2 separate regions of the Homo sapiens genome follow, and region 1 is linked to region 2. Evidence: promoter capture Hi-C in 16 types of primary human blood cells and fetal thymus (Javierre and others, 2016). All regions are on one chromosome and are shown on one strand. Each heading gives the region's core, a stretch centred on a gene start or on the middle of the fragment in contact. The rest is flanking DNA. Distances are from core to core; before and after follow the strand shown. Region 1 overlaps TNK2 (tyrosine kinase non receptor 2). Region 2 holds the start of PPP1R2 (protein phosphatase 1 regulatory inhibitor subunit 2).

Region 1 (2,700 bases), core at 133-2,632, 320 kb after region 2:
TAAGAACCACCCGAGACAGTGACAGACAGGTGACAGCGAGTGCCTGCGTCCCAGATGCAAATCAGTAAGAACCACCCGAGACAGTGACAGACAGGTGACAGCGAGTGCCTGCGTCCCAGGTGCAAATCAGTAAGAACCACCCGAGACAGTGACAGACAGGTGACAGCGAGTGCCTGCGTCCCGGGTGCAAATCAGTAAGAACCACCCGAGACAGTGACAGACAGGTGACACAGAGTGCCTGCGTCCCGGGTGCAAATCAGTTAAGAATGACCCGAGACAGGATGGGACAGACAGGTGACACCGAGTGCCTGCATCCCAGGTGCAAATCAGTAAGAACCACCCGAGACTGGGACAGACAAGTGACACGGAGTGCCTGCATCCCAGGTGCAAATCAGTAAGAACCACCCGAGACAGTGACAGACAGGTGACAGCGAATGCCTGCGTCCCAGGTGCAAATCAGTAAGAACCACCCGAGACAATGACAGACAGGTGACACAGAGTGCCTGCGTCCCAGGTGCAAATCAGTTAAGAACGACCCGAGACAGTATGGGACAGACAGGTGACAGGGAGTGCCTGCATCCCAGCTGCAAATCAGTAAGAACCACCCGAGACAGTATGGGACAGACAGGTGACACGGAGTGCCTGCATCCTGGCGCCAGGCGTGCTGGGCGCAATAAGACAGACATGTCCCCCATCCATCGCGCCAGTCCCTTCCACGGGGTGAGCACTATTATCTACACGCTTTATATGTGGAGAAACTCCGCACCGTGCACAGGGCCACGCTGCTGGGACAAGGGCAGCAGGTATCTCCAGGGCCTGGCCCGTGTCAGCCCCTCCTCCCGCCAGTGCCTCCTGCCATGGTGCTGGCTCCAGCCATGTGACCTCAGTTCACTTCTTTTTGACTTGACAGCGCTCTCATATATATATTTACATAATATATAAAGTGTGTTTATATATGTATATATTTTAAATGTCTATATATTTTGTTAAACTATAATATAAACCTTTTACAGGAAAGACAATATATTTTCTTTTTAGAGAAAATTTTTTTTTTTGGAGACAGTCTCCCTCTGTCGCCCAGGATGGAGTGCAGTGGTGCAATCTCAGCTCACAGCAACCTCCGCCTCCCAGGTTGAAGCGATTCTCCTGCCTCAGCCTCCCCAGCAGGTGGGATTACAGGTGCCCACCACCATACCCGGTTAATTTTTGTATTTTTAGTAGAGACCTGGTCTCGCCATGTTGGCCAGGCTGGTCTCGAACTCCTGACCTCAGGTGATCCTCCCTCCTTGGCCTCCCACAGTGCTGGGGATTACAGCCATGAGCCACGGTGCCCAGCCAACACTGAAATTTTAAATGTTACTTTAAACAGAAATATGGAAACACAGAGGTGAGAAAGAGGTGTGCAAATCATGGGGTCCTAAAAAGTGCCATTCCTGGAGCCGCTCAGGGTCACTGCAGGTGCTAGGGAAGCAAGCCTCCTTCAACCAGAGAGGCTCCAATTCCCTCTTGTACTCATTTGAAAACCAAGTGGCTAAAATGTCCAAATAAACACATTTAGGAAAAACGATTTGCTGGGCCCTGTGAGCGCCTCCCTCCCGCAGCTGGAGAGCTGTGTCTCCCTGGCCGGGAGCGGCCTGCGAGGTGTTGGGCTTCCTCCCAGTGTGGCAGGCTCTGGGACAGCCCTCCTGGGGCACGGAGCGGGGCAGACTGTGGGGCTCACTCACTTGTGGTGGGCAGGGCCCCAGGAGCCCAGAAGGTGGCAGCCGGCCTGCTCCAGGTTCCAGTCGAACATCTCCAGCACTTTGTGGCACTCCCCTCTGGGCCGCAGACCCAGCCCGAAGAGCTGCTCCACCTGGGGGTAAGGGTGGCGCCATGGACACGCGGGCCCAGGGCACCGACTAGGGTGGGGAAGAGGGGAGTCGGAGCCAGGGGGCGTGGGGCTGGGGGCAGCAGAACCAGGCTTCAGGGTCCCTGAGAGCCAGAGTGAGCAGGAGGTGGCGGTACCTTCAGATACTGGGCAGCCCTCTGCACGCTCCAGCCGTGGCACTGCAGGGCCGCCTGGCACTCCTCTGTGGTCACCCCATGCACCATGGCCTGCAGCTGGGCACACCCACCCCTGTCAGCACCACTAGGGCCCACTGCTCCAGGCCCCTTGGGCCCTGCCCCGCTTCGCCCACAGCCAGGCTGGGTGCTCACCATCTGGATCTTGTCTGCTGGCCGGCCCGCCTCTGGCCCATCGCCAGGGCAGCCCCTCTGTGGCAGCCGAGCAGTGGCCCTCGGGGGTGGTGGCCGGGCCCCTGGGTTGCTGTTGTTGGTGGAGAAGTTGGCCTTGGGGTCCAAGGCAGCCTGGGGCATCGGCCGCACGGTGGCCGTGGGGGCGGCGGGGGCTGGGGTGCTGGGTGGGGGCAGCAGCAGAGGCACAGGCAGGGGGGTAGGCTCCTCGGGGCTCTGGGCCTCACGCAGGAAGCGCTGGTAGCGCTCCAGGTAGGATGGTCGCTCGGGCAGCAAGTAATAGTGGGTGCTGCTGACCTTCTTGCCATCCCGGACGATGGGCAGGATGCAGGGACCAGCCCGCGGGCCAGGGGCCTGGATCACCTGGGGGGTGGCGTACTTGGGGTCTGAGGCAAAGCTCTGGGTGGTGGGCATGGTCTTCCCAGGTGAGCTTGAGAGCCGGGGTGGCAGCGGGGAGCTGCCAGGTGG
Region 2 (2,700 bases), core at 178-2,677:
CAGTAGTTCCTTTTATGGTCCTAAATAAGATCCTTTATCCAGGAATGCCCTAGGTTCCTATATTCTGAGATTTCACAAACATCCTCATTTTAGCTTCTGACTACCAATTTCAATGGTAACTTTTCTTAAGCCTTATTTTCAGAAAGTAGAGTCCTTCTATTTTTAGTATCTTGCAACGCCCAAGCCCCCGTGCACTTCTAACCCACTACAGATACTGTACTGCAACATTTTCTCCGTGCATAAACGCCTACCTTTCTTTTTTTAAAGGCTAGTATATTGTTCCATTATACAAACGTACCGTAATTAATATTTCACCAGCTCTTACTAATGGACTTCCGGTCGTTTCCAATTATATTATAAATATTACATACAATGCTCAGGTCAACAACTTTTTACATGTGTATCTTTAGCGTATGCAAGAGCAACTAAATTACCACTGGGTCATTTCAAGTTGCTCCTCTTTGAACTGTTTTGAGCTTAGATCTATCTCTGAACAGGAACAAAAACTAGAAAGCACCCAAAACTCTGGTTGCAGATGCAGAAATACAGTGTGGCACAATGCTAATGGGGGAAATGGTCTCTTCTTTGACGGATCGCCTATTAGCTTGAGACTAGATCTTAAAGGGTTCCCAAAGCAAGAAAATACACTGTAATTATCGAAGAATTTTAGATACCTCAGAGATGAGGTTAAGAAATAGTAAAAGCTTAACAGTCGAAGATCTGAAGCTTCAATTTCATTCTTTGATGTTCCCGATTACAGAAAGTTCAAAGATGATGTTTAAAAATATTATATATGCCCAAATGCTTAAAAAAAAAAAAGGAAGCATGATAAACGTCATCGCCCAGCCTTCTTAAAGATCGCTCCCACCCGCGGCTAGCCGGGCAGGAGAAGAGACTCGAGCGGCACCCGAGCCGCATCCACGCCGCCCGCCCGCCCCTGGGGTCTGGGTAGGTAACGGGCCCGGCGGGAAGGAGGGGCTCCCAGGCCGTCCCTCCCAGCGCTCACCTCAGCTCCTCGTCGACATTCCCGCGGGGCTGTTCGGCCGACGCCACCATAGAGGAAGTCGTAGAGGTCTTGTTCTTCAAGATCCCCTTGATGGGCCGGTGCGAGGCCGTCGAGGCCGCCATTGCCGGGCGCTCCGGCTGTCGGCTCAGGGTCGCTGCTTGGCGTGGGGTCCGCGAAGAGAAGGGTCGGCACAGCAGAGACTCGCAGGCAGCCGCAGATCCCGCTCAGGGCTAAAGCGGCCGCAACTGCTGCCTCGGAAACGGCTACCGCAGCGGTTGTCACGACACAACGACCCCGACGCCAGAGCCAACGCCGAACGGGTGGCGGCTACTCGCGCACCCTTAGCCACTGGCACTTGACCCGCGGCTCGCGGAGAGACGCCGGCCTAGAGCTCCAGCGCAGGAGCGACGCGACGCCGAAGCCAAGCGGACCCGCCCTCTCGCGATATCTAGGGAGGAGGCGGGGAGAGGGCGGGGCGAGAACAAAGCCGACCTCCTCGCCCCGCCCCCTCCGTCCCGCCCGGGCTGCTCGCCCCGCCCCCGCGCGGCGCTGGGAGGCGGGAGCTGTCTCTGAGAACCTGCGGGAGAGCGCCCGGGCTTGCTGCTTCCCGGACCCGCGCGTCTCTCGAGCACCCTCGTCCCACCACCTTGTGAGGCCGTAGTGTTATTTTTATTTTTTAGATCAGCAGACTGAGACTCGAGGTGACGTCACTCCGCAGAGAGGTTAGCTGACTTGAAGAAAACGGGTATCTCCTCTTTCCATTTCGCCCGTGTAAACAGCCGAACTGCCTATTATAAAAGCATGGACTGCCAGCATTGGAGTGGTCCTTAGAGGCCTATTATGAAATCATAGAATGTCTGCATTGGAATCGCCTCACCTCCTTTTACCGCTGGAGAAGCCGACGGACAGACGGGCAGCGACCCCCGCCGTCGCACAACCCGTCTAGGCAGAGAGCGCAGGAGACGGGAGGGCGGCAGGGACACATCTCCCAGCCAAGGACCTCCTGGGCCCGCAGAGGCCGCGACAGGTTCCCCCCACAGAGGGAACCAACTCTGCCGCAGGTTGATGTGGACTTCAAGCCTGCAGAACGGAGAGCCCATTTCCATTGCTTAAAGCCACCTCGTGTGTGGTATTTGTTATGGTCCCTGTACACTCCCTTCCCTCCCTCTCCCAAGTCCAGTCCGCAGCTCGCTCATCACCAGGCTCTTTTCCATGACTCTTTCTTGATCAGGCCTTTTTATCGTCCTCACCACAGGTTAGAGCACAGCAGACTGAGCCACCCAGAACTGGCCCCTCCGGTGGACCAGCCCCTGCGGATTCACAGACCACTGGTCCTGGAAGGGACCTTGTCAAGCAGGCCCATAAGGTGGCTATTCAGCCTGTTTCTCCAACAACCCCAGGGGCTAGAAGCCCGCCACACCCCCGTGTAACTCATTTTGTTTTTGGACAGCTCTGACTCTGGGAGTTCTTAGATTGAGCTGACACCTCGCTCCCAGCAATGTCTGTCCACTGCTGTGGGGGGTGAGAGGAAGCGTTTTCCCCTATCTAGCCCCTATAGCAGCAGTTTCACTCCCATGGCTCATCTCTGGACCACAGTCTCATCTTCTTTAACACAGGCTCTGTGCCTTTTGAGGATGACCCTGTTCTGTGTCCTTAGGACTCTGCCCCTCAGGGATGACTGTAGGGTTCTGAAA

What was found. Contacts are between HindIII fragments. The CHiCAGO score rates a contact against its expected background, and 5 or more counts as called.
Region 1: a contact is called between a fragment that was not itself captured here and the fragment with the promoter of PPP1R2 in region 2, in 3 of 17 cell types (naive CD4 T cells, non-activated CD4 T cells and total CD4 T cells). The highest score is 7.0, in naive CD4 T cells.

What each region holds. Positions count from the first base shown.
Region 1 is chr3:195,865,165-195,867,864 of GRCh38, forward strand. It overlaps TNK2 (tyrosine kinase non receptor 2), which reads right to left. Exons shown (of 16, transcript NM_001382273.1): 13 at 2,197-2,700; 14 at 2,005-2,100; 15 at 1,725-1,852. Among named protein-coding and RNA genes, the nearest start is that of LINC01983, 6.1 kb to the left of the region's middle. The HindIII fragment of the contact is 9,288 bases long and covers 1-2,700 here.
Region 2 is chr3:195,541,898-195,544,597 of GRCh38, forward strand. It overlaps PPP1R2 (protein phosphatase 1 regulatory inhibitor subunit 2), which reads right to left and starts at 1,428. Exons shown (of 6, transcript NM_006241.8): 1 at 1,007-1,428. The coding sequence starts at 1,128. RefSeq lists a silencer at 1,400-1,639. The HindIII fragment of the contact is 8,075 bases long and covers 725-2,700 here.